3 separate regions of the Homo sapiens genome follow, and regions 2 and 3 are each linked to region 1. Evidence: promoter capture Hi-C in human tissues and cell types (Jung and others, 2019). All regions are on one chromosome and are shown on one strand. Each heading gives the region's core, a stretch centred on a gene start or on the middle of the fragment in contact. The rest is flanking DNA. Distances are from core to core; before and after follow the strand shown.

The links. The method cuts DNA at HindIII sites, captures the fragments that hold promoters and counts their contacts. A contact is called where the count stands out against the background at its distance.
Region 2: a fragment that was not itself captured here is called in contact with the fragment with the promoter of ST8SIA6 in region 1 in 2 of the 25 tissues and cell types used here (H1 embryonic stem cells and IMR-90 fibroblasts).
Region 3: a fragment that was not itself captured here is called in contact with the fragment with the promoter of ST8SIA6 in region 1 in 2 of the 25 tissues and cell types used here (aorta and spleen).

The regions. Positions count from the first base shown.
Region 1 is chr10:17,452,991-17,456,514 of GRCh38, forward strand. It overlaps ST8SIA6 (ST8 alpha-N-acetyl-neuraminide alpha-2,8-sialyltransferase 6), which reads right to left and starts at 1,605. Exons shown (of 8, transcript NM_001004470.3): 1 at 1,165-1,605; 2 at 569-667. The coding sequence starts at 1,265. The HindIII fragment of the contact is 8,458 bases long and covers 1-3,524 here.
Region 2 is chr10:17,530,470-17,533,734 of GRCh38, forward strand. No RefSeq gene overlaps it. Among named protein-coding and RNA genes, the nearest start is that of ST8SIA6, 78 kb to the left of the region's middle. The HindIII fragment of the contact is 5,175 bases long and covers 1-3,265 here.
Region 3 is chr10:17,354,584-17,358,101 of GRCh38, forward strand. The region is part of intron 4 of ST8SIA6 (ST8 alpha-N-acetyl-neuraminide alpha-2,8-sialyltransferase 6); the gene reads right to left. Among named protein-coding and RNA genes, the nearest start is that of ST8SIA6-AS1, 31 kb to the right of the region's middle. The HindIII fragment of the contact is 4,443 bases long and covers 1-3,518 here.

The DNA of each region.
Region 1 (3,524 bases), core at 355-2,854:
TCTATTTTCTAACTTTCTGCACAAAGCTGTATTACTTTTACAATCTGAAAAAAAAACAATTACTGCCTATGAATAAAAACACATGTGAATGATAAGAAAAAAAATTTAAGCCTCCAGTCACTAAGGACAAAATCATTCCTAGCACGCAAAACAAACCTGAATCTTAACACCGGTGCCCTTTAAAGCATAGAAAAGAAAAAGCAAACCAACCAAATCCCTCCATAAAGACAGGCTGAGCTGCTTCTCTCCAAAGGTGGCGGGGTCGGGGGCGGGGGTGCTTTCAACACACCATTGTCGAGAGGAAAACTCAGCACCCGTTTTTCAAATGCAGCTGCTGGAGGATCCCCCTTGATTCAAAGACCATTCACATCCAGGCTTAGAGGGTTGAGGGAGTGTGAAGGGTGCCCCCCCCCAACCCCGCGCCCTCTTCAAACACACGCACACTCTTACACTCACTCGCGCCGTCCCAGCCTGCCTACTCCCAACGAGTCCAAGCCGGTGCAGCCGCGCCCCATGCCCGGCTCGCAGCTCCCGAGCCCCAGTCCGCCCGCGCTGGGCGCCGCTGTACCTGTTAGTGGCGCGCGGTACCGCGGTCGCCGGGCTCCGGAGCGTCCTCAGCGCTGCGGGGGTGCCGTGGGTGGCCTCCCTGCTTTCCTCCACCAGAATCCTGCACAGCCGGGGAGAAAACTTAAGTTGCTACACCCCGCCGGGAGCTGTTGGCTGAAAGGCTGGGAGTCGCGCTCCTTGCCTGGCAGGGAGATCTCGCACTCCCCGGCTCCCAGGCCAGGTCCCCAGCCCCAGAGTTGGAAGAGCCTTAGGGCGGGAAGGAAGAGACAGCAAGGACCAGAATGGGGAGCATGAGATCCTGATGCGGAACCCGACGGCAGGTCCCGCTCCACAGCTGCCTCGCCCACAGCGATGCGCGCTAGAGCCCCCGCAGCCCTGACCGGTCCCTCTGCTCCCCAGCCGCCGTCCACCGGTCGGAGGGTCGCCTCCCTGCGACCCCCTCCCCCACTCCACTCTCAGGCCGTCGCCGCCCGTGGGCTGCTCCCCGCCGCGGCCAAAAGTCTCCGCGCCCGAGGGGAAGCGATGGGCGGCTTGGGGGTCCGGGGGCGCCAGGCGGGGCGCGCGGCGCGGGGCGCGGCCGGCGGGTGGGTGGGTTACCTGGCGCGGCCGGGCGCGTCTGCCGGGCACCAGAGCAGGCGCAGCAGCAGCAGCAGCAGCAGGCTGGCGAGCAGGGCGAGCAGTGCGCCCCCCGGCCGCATCCTGAGCCACAGGCGCCGCCGCCACCGCTGCTGCCGGGGCGAAGCACAGCCCGGGCGGCCCCGACTCGCGGCTCCCGCCGCCGCCGCCACCGCCGCCGTGGCCGCAGCCCCGCGCACCCACAGCGTTCACAGGCGGCAGCGAGGGGCGCCCGCAGCCCACCCGGCAGAGTCTCCGCGGCGGGCGGAGAAGAAGCCGCGTTCGGGCTCGCCCCGGGCTCCCGGCCCCGGCCCGCGGAGCGCCGCGATCGGCTGGCAGATGACGATTCGCCGAGCTCGCCGCCTGTCCTCCCGGAGGCGCTCGGAGCTGCTGCGGGCTCCGGTCGCCGCTGCCACTGCTGCTGCCGCCGCCGCCGCGCGGGGTCACCTGAAGGTTGGGGCGCGGAAGCTCAACTCCGTGCTGATTGGGCTCCAAGTTTTCTGCGCCCTCGCCTCGTCCCGAGTGCCCGCGAATCCCCCGGACGCCCACGCAGACCACCCAGCCACACCACAACTCTGCCTGCGGAGAGAGGAGAGGAGAAAAAGGGGCCGCTTCAAAAACTTTCAAAACTGTGCAGTCGCTTGGCTGGATCCTCCCACGCATGAAGAAAGCTGGGGACTGGGGAATTGCTGGGTGGATCATGACACTGAACAGAAGCAGTAACCTGTGCTTACTTCAACCCAGATTCAGAGGGACAGCGAACTGGTATGAGGGGCTAGGAGACCTTTAGGCATGAGCACATTACTACCTGGAGACCCGTTTAGCCCCTGCCTGTATTTGCAAATAGTTTTATTGGAAAACCTCCATGCCCATGGCTTTGTATTATCAGTGACTGCATATGGCTGTATGATCTAGGGCTGCAAGGGCAGAATTGAGTAGTGATGACAGAGGTGGCATAGCCCACAGGGCCTAAAATATTTACCATTTGAAACTTTCCAGGAAAAGTTTGCATACTGCTCTTAAATAAGCAAGAGGCCATTAGCTTGAGGCTGTCTCTGTACGTTGAGTTCCCACCTAACAATGGAAACCTACATTAGGCTGTAATGAACAGGGGGCTACTGGCCAATCATGGGCAACCAACTCATTATACCAGGCCCCACAAGGCAGCCTGCATAGCTATAGCCAATCAGTTTCTCCACTGTGCTTCTGAGTTTGGCCTATCAGGCTTTGCTGCTCACACCATGGGGTGGACCTCACTGGACCTCCTCTGGTTGTGAGTGCTGCCCAATTCATGAACCCTTTGCTCGAATAAACTGTGCTAAATTTAATTTGTCTGATGTTTTTCTTTTAACACTGCTATGGGCTGAATGTTTGTGTCTCTACAAAATTCATATGTTGAAACCCAAATCCCCAATCTAATGTGGTGGTATCTGGAGGTGGGGCCTTTCATACCTGATTAGTTCATGGGGTGGAGGCTTCCTGGTGGAATTAGTTCCCTCATAAGAGCAGGCAGCGGGGAATTTGCCTCCTCTCTCTCTGCTCTGTGCAGTGTAAAGACACAGCACGAGGGCAGCTTTCTGCCAAGCAGGAAGAGGACCCTCACCAGAACCTGACCATGCTGGCACACTGATCTTGGGTTTCTTACCCTCCAGAACTGTGAAAAATAAATTTCTGTTCTTTCGGTCACCCAGCCTATGGTATCCTTCTTATGGCAGCCAGAACTAAACCACGGTCTAGATCATATTGGTTAGTATCTCATTTACGAGTATCTCATCTGTTGCAGGAGAGTGATCCAATGACACTATGAAACAGACTGGCTCTCTATTTTTTTAAAAGTGGGTCTCAACTCTCTATGCCCTAAACTATCCTGACTGCCCAAGCCCCCACTTAGCCACTTCCCTAGGTTTTAATTCCATTGTGGTTATATGCAGGCTTATAAAATTATTCACTCTTACTTTTGTATAGTTTCGAGATTTTTCCAAATGCAACCCTTGGATTCCACCATCTTGGGAGTACCTTGATAAGATCTTTTGAAATGACTTCAATTTTGAAAAGGCTTTCATGAGTTAACTTTCCCAAGCAACAAAAATATGATATTTCAACTGACATCTCCTAGAAGCATATGGTCTTCACCTGAAAGAGGCCCAAGTGAGAGCCATTTGGGAGCAACCAGGCCAGACAGCCAAATAAAGCTGTCACCAAAGATTCCATCACAAGAAAACATATATCAAGGCAAGAGATACCAGTGTCCCTAGTCTCTTTCTGCTAATTCCGGATTTACTCTAAAAACATCTTGTTGAATACAAAACAGAAGTTTGCACATAATAATTGATCAATAAATG
Region 2 (3,265 bases), core at 262-2,761, 77 kb after region 1:
CTGCACTCCAGCCTGGGCAACAGAGCAAGACTCTATCTCAAAATAAAAACAAACAGACAAACAAAAAAGTCAATACTGGGTCATAGATAAAAGTCAATTGTCCATCAACAAGAGAATATATAAACTAATTATGCTATATTCACAGGATGGGATACTACTCCATGATACCCACAAACCAATAATAGAGGGAATTTTCTCAACTGGATAAAACGTGGCAACAAAAAACGTGCAGCTACTATCATTCTTAATAATAGACTGTTGAATGTTGTCCTCCTAAGTCAGAAATACAGTAACGATGTCTACTCTTACCACTTCTGTTCAATATTGTACTAGTGGTTGTAGCCAGTGCAATAAGGCACCAAAAAGAGATAATAAAAATTGGAAAGAAATAATTTAGACTGTTATTCAAAGATAACATCGCTTTGTACATAGAAATCCTAAGGAACCAACAAGTTCCTAGAACTAATTTGAGTTTAGCATGATTGTGGGTTACAAGGGCAATGCAGAAAAATCAATTATATCTGTATATACCAACAAAAAACAATTAGAAAATTAAATTTTTTTAAGTTACCACTTAGAATAAATGACATTAAATACTTTTGAGTGGAGAGTACTCAAACCTAAAAATTAAAAACATTGCTGAGATAAAGGAGACATAATAAGAGTGATATACAATCTTCATGGAATGGACTAGCTTAGGGGTATTAAGATTTCAGTTCTCCCTAAACTAATATTTAGATTCAGTGCAAGCCCGGCAGATGTTGGGGTAGGTGGGAGGCAGTGGAATTATATTGCTGATGTGAGTGTAAAATAGTACAACCTCTTTGAAAAAACTGGCAATTGCTGATAAAGTTAAACACAGAGTTACCTGTGACCCACAGATTCTACTCCTAACCAAGGGAAACAGGTAAGTGTGTCCACTAAAAGACTTTTCCAGAAATACTGATTAAAGCTTTATTCATGATAGGTCAAAAGTGGACATAACTCAATTGTCCATCAACAAGAGAATGCATAAACTAATTATGGTCTATTCACACAATGGAATACTATTCAGTGATAAAAAGAACAAACAACAGATACACGTTAGAACATGAATGAGTCGTGAAAATATTATTTATGGTGATTGAAAGAAGCCAGACACAAAAAAAGTACATATTGTAAGATTTCATGTGACGTTCAAGAATATGTAATACTAATCTCTGCTGTTGGAAATCGGAAGAGAAGTTGCATGTAGGGTGTGGGCACTGATGACAAAAGGGCACGAGATAATTTTCTGAGATAATGGAACTATCTTATATTTTGATGTGAATGGAGATCACACTTGTGTCTGTGCGTGTGTGTGTAGACGTATCTCAAGCTGTACACTTAAGATTTATGCATTTTAACATGTATAAATCATACCTCACTAAAGTATTAATATGTATATATATATATATTCTCCCCCTCATTCCCATCTCCCTTCCTGCTCTATTTTTCTTTTTTCACACTTACCCTATTCTGAGTTACTACATTATTTCTTACTTGATTTTTACATTGTCTGTCTTCCCCAGTAGAATGTAAGTTCTCTAAAGACAGGGCTTTGTTTGGTTCATTGCTGGATTTCAGCGATGAGAACATTATCATATATTAGACAGTTAAAAATATTTGTTAAGGAAATGGAAGGCATCCACATTTTATGCCTTATATTTATTTATTTATTTATTTATTTATTTTTGAGATGGAGTTTTGCTCTTCTTGTCCAGGCTAGAGTGCAATGGCACAATCTCGGCTCACTGCAACCTCCGCCTCCTTGGTTCAAGCATTTCTCCTGCCTCAGCCTCCCAAGTAGCTGGGATTACAGGCGTGTGCCACCACGCCTGGCTAACTTTTGTATTTTTTTAATAGAGACGGGGTTTCACCATGTTGGATAGGCTGGTCTCGAACTCCTGACCGCATGTGATGCACCCACCTCGGCCTCCCAAAGTGCTGGGATTACAGGTGTGAGCCACTGCGCCCGGCCATATGCCTTATGGTTCTGATTGTGTAATTAAAAGCTTTCTTTCCCGTTAAAGGAATGGCCAACAAATGGAAGAAACAATGGCTTTCCTCTCACTCCTGAAACCAAAATGGTGCTGAAGGTAGACTCTTTCAATTCACATAGGCAGCCACTCTCTGAACAAAACAAGGACTCGGAATCACAGAGTCACCACTAATCCTCTTCTACTTTTCTCTTTTCTATAATACTTCTTCTTCCTCTTGTCACTTTATCACTAAACTCAAACGCTGAGTCTTTCAGCAGTGGCATACTTAGCATATTTGACATCAACAGCATATCATTGTTAGCCCACCCACCCCCAAGAGGCCAAAATTATTTTTAGTAATAGCCGTGCAATGAAATAAATCATAATAATGGCCAGAAAATAAACACAGTGAAAATTGATTTTAACTCTCTCTGTATGATTATGCCAGAAAAAACATTGTTAATAAAATTAAAATTAATATTATGATACAAAAAAAGAAAAAGGTAATGAATTAATTCTTTTTAATTGGATTTATATTTTTATCTTGAAAATGAGGGGAAACATTTTTATCTATGTTCAATCTCAGTAATGAACAATAACGTGTTCTATTTTAAAGTCTAAATGACTTCATCAAAACTGGTCTTTTCTGGCCAGGTGCAGTGGCTCACGCCTGTAATCCCAGCACTTTGGGAGGCTGAGGTGGGCAGATCACTGGAGGTCAGGAGTTTGAGACCAGCCTGGCCAACATGGCGAAACCTGGTCTCTACTAAAAATACAAAAATTAGCCAGGCATGGTGGCGGGCACCTGTAATCCCAGCTACCCGGGAGGCTGAAGCGGGAGAATGGCGTGAACCCAGGAGGCAGAGGTTGCAGTGAGTCAAGATCGCACAACTGCACTCCAGCCTGGGCAACAGAGCAAGATTCTCCATCTCAAAAACAAAAAAACCTGATCTTTTCTGTATATATGGTCATGCAACAGTGGGCTGAGTCTCTCAATCTAGGTATGTATGCTCACCGATGACCAAAGTACACTTCATTCACTTTCGTTTGAAAGCCTTTGTTTCCCACAAAGCCACAGATACATGAATAGTTTGGAAAAGTTTTAAAGACAAAGATAAGTTTGGCAGAGATTTTACAATAAATCCCAGAACTTGCAATAATGTCTATGTGTTTATTTCTTCAGGATAAATTCTAGCAGGTGTCAGATGTACCCACAGTCAAGAAATCTTAAACAAAATTAAAAATGTCAAGTGGTCACATAGAAT
Region 3 (3,518 bases), core at 65-2,564, 99 kb before region 1:
CAACTAGTATCTCACAAAATGTAAATTCATAGCGGAAACTTAGAATCTGCGGTAAATTTCAGGTAAATCTGAGCCAGACTCACACCTATGCTTGGGATAACCATGCCATCTTGGAAGGTGATTGGATAGGCATCCTGGATAGGCAATTGAATCCCAGAGTCTCAGGGCCAGAAAGATCCTTAGAAATACATTAGTCCATGTGGAAGGTTCTAGACTCTTGGAGAATCTGATGAAAGCCACAGATTCTTTTCCCAGAAACGTGTACAAAATCTCACAATTTTGAGAGTTTTAGGAAACCGCTTTCATGGACTTCAGATTAAGAATCTTCCTAGTTAAGCCTTTCATGTTTCCGGGTAAAAGCTGAAGGAAGTTTGAGACTCAAGCGCCAAGCTGCCAAGTTCTCAGACCCACAATTAAGTGCTGAATGAGTAAAAGCTTAGGAATCTATAAAAAGAGGACAAACCCCCTCGTAGCACAACAAGAAAGTTAAAATAAAATTGCTGAGAAGATAGACTTGGAGAAGCCCTATCTCTTACAAAAGCCAGATTTAAACTGCAGTTGCTTTTCTTTTTTGAGAGAATTCATTTTCTCTTAGCATTTATATTTTCCCCAGACCAAGCAAAAGGTCTTCTGTATCCAGTTGTCTTAAAGTCAGCTCAAACACATCCTGTCCAAGATGCTTTTATCTTCTCAATCCAATTTCTCTTTGAAATCTTTCTGTCAGTAGCAGCATGAGTATTTCAGATGCAGGATTTCTCATTTGACTTTATTTTTCTTCTCCTTCAATGAGAGAACTGGAAGTCAACAAGTAACCAAGTCCTACCAAGTCTTCAGTCATAGAGCAATTTATTGGGTACCATCTATGAGATAGGCACTGGAGATACAAAGATAAACAAGATAATGCCATGTCCCCAAAGGGCTCATAGTCAAGCATCTCTCTCTTGATATTTTCATAGCTACCGTTGATGTTGTAGTTGGTCACCATTCTGTAGTTACTTGTCTACAACCAGCCCCTACCTGCTCTGATTTTTCTACACTACTCCCTCCCTCCTAATACTCCAACTTGCTTTCATTCATTATGCTGTCCGAATACTTTCCCTAAAACAGTAAATTCAATTTGTAATTCCTTTGCTAGCAATATTGCTCTTGGGCTCCTGGTAGCTACAGAATGTCTGTGGACTTTACTCTGATAACCAGATCTCCATGCATCAGATCCTTCCTTGTCTACCTGAAATTATCCTCTTTATCTTGCGTACCTAATAGTACAAGTTCATTGCTCCAGCCCAGCTGGCCTTGAATCTTATTGCCTTTCTTCCTGGCCTCATCACTCCCAAATTGGTCTCACCCTCCCTTTGCAGCCATCTTCAGAGTTATAGCTCAAGTTCTGCCTCTTTTCACAAAATATTTCAAAAAACTATATCCCACAGTGATCTTGCATTAATATATGACAGTATTTGTCTAAATCACTCATTCTGATATTCAATCATAAATATTCATACTTATATTTCTTGTCTTTCTAAAGTGACTATAAATTCTTTGAGTTCAGTAAGAAAACATGACACTTTTTTGTTTACTTTCATGCATCCATTTCTTTAATATTTTTTTTTGTTGAGGCCCTATTTTGTGCCCAGCACTCTAGCAGGAACAAAAAAAGACTACAGTGCTCTAAACTATACAGTGCATAGTTTAGAAATATGCCCATAAAAAGAACATTACAATATAATAAATATTCAAGTCAATAAATAAATGTCTGTGTGCCTGTTCTCTTCTATGACAACAAAATGTATTATAGCCCCAGAGGTTTACTTTTTTTTTTTTTTTGAGGTGGAGTCACTCTGTCAGCCAGCCTGCAGTGCAGTGGTACAATTTAGATCACTGCAACCTCTGCCTCTCAGGTTCAAGTGATTCTCCCGCCTCAGTGATTCTTCTGAGTACCTGGGATTACAAGTATGCCCCGTTATGCCCAGCTAATTTTTATATTTTTAGTAGAGATGAGGTTTCACCATGTTGGCCAGGCCAGTTTCGAACTCCTGGCCTCAAGTGATCCACCCACCTCAGCCTCCCAAAGTGCTTGGATTGCAGTTATGAGCCACTGCACCTGGCCTAAGATGTTTACTTAAATTGGCCCTGAAGGGATGGATAGGCCATTTGGAGTAATTGTCATGGTTACTGATGCATTTTTTTTTAATGTGAAAATGGTACTAAGGTAATAATGGCTGTACCCTCCATGGACCAGCCATCTATACAGATTCTATACCTCATAATCTGCAGCAGTGACTTTCATACATCTCTGGATTTGAAGAGACTGATTTTTGTCCAAAAAAAAGAAAGGAAAGGAAGACAAAAGATTTACAGATAATAAGTTATTAAATGGAGCCAGACATTGTGAGTGGATACTTATAGAGATGATTTAAGGCTCTGAATAAGGTTACCTTCCCCCAAGGGAATCCCCAAGAAGGGATTTCCTTCTGCTCCTATCGGGCATCTAAGTTAAGGGCAGATCTAAATCCAGCTCAGGATGGAAATGTTTCAAAGTTGGCCTTCAGTTCTTTTTTTTTTTTCTTTTGAGACGGAGTCTCTCTGTCATGTCACCCAGGCTAGAGGGCAATGGCACAATCTGCAACCTCTGCCTCCTGAGTTCAAGCGATTCTCCTGCCTCAGCCTCCTGAGTAGTTGGGATTACAAGTGCATGCCACCACGCCTGGCTAATTTTTTTTTTTTTTTTTGTATTTTTAGTAGAGACGGGGTTCCACCATGTTGGTCAGGCTGCTTTTGATCTCCTGATCTCGTGATCCACCTGCCTCAGCCTCCCAAAGTGCTGGGATTACAGGCGTGAGCCATACGCCCAGCCCCTTCAGTTCTTTTAAAAACTGGTTTTTCCAGGGATTCAAAGTTGGCCTTCAGTTCTTTTGAAAACTGGTTTTTCCAGGGATTGCTGGAAGCTCTGCTCAGCTTCTCTGCCTCTCAGCCAAATTTTGCTTTTGTATTCGGCAAGTTCTTTATGACAAAAACCAGCCCAAATTGATGGGTTCTTTTCACCTTCTGGGCTTTAGTCCTTTAAATTCTCCCTGCCTTCGTGGCAGGGAGGACCTGCTCCAGTGTCCTCACACAGGTGTTTGGTAGACTTTGTTTTATTTTCATTACTCTCAAGAGGCTTGGTCTGAACTTAACAGCCAGAAGTAAAAGCTCCTATACTCCCTACTTTGATCATTACAGTCATTACAAATCTATCTTTCCAGCTAATTATCTTAGATTGATCCTCAATAGCTCACTACCTGAATCTCTCCCTCTTCTTTTTTTGTCTATTCTGCATATGCAGAAAGGTTTCTCAAAATCAGACTCTGTTATCACTTGTTGACCCTGTGATCATTTAGGTTATGATTGTGCAATTTTCAATCTCATCTTCCTGCCACCAGGACCTCTCAAATCCAGTCTCAAATAGATTGAATTTGGCATAAAACGTCCTGGAAATGAAATCGTTAAACAGGAATCCCCTTTCCAGCCTCTCTTCCTAAAAT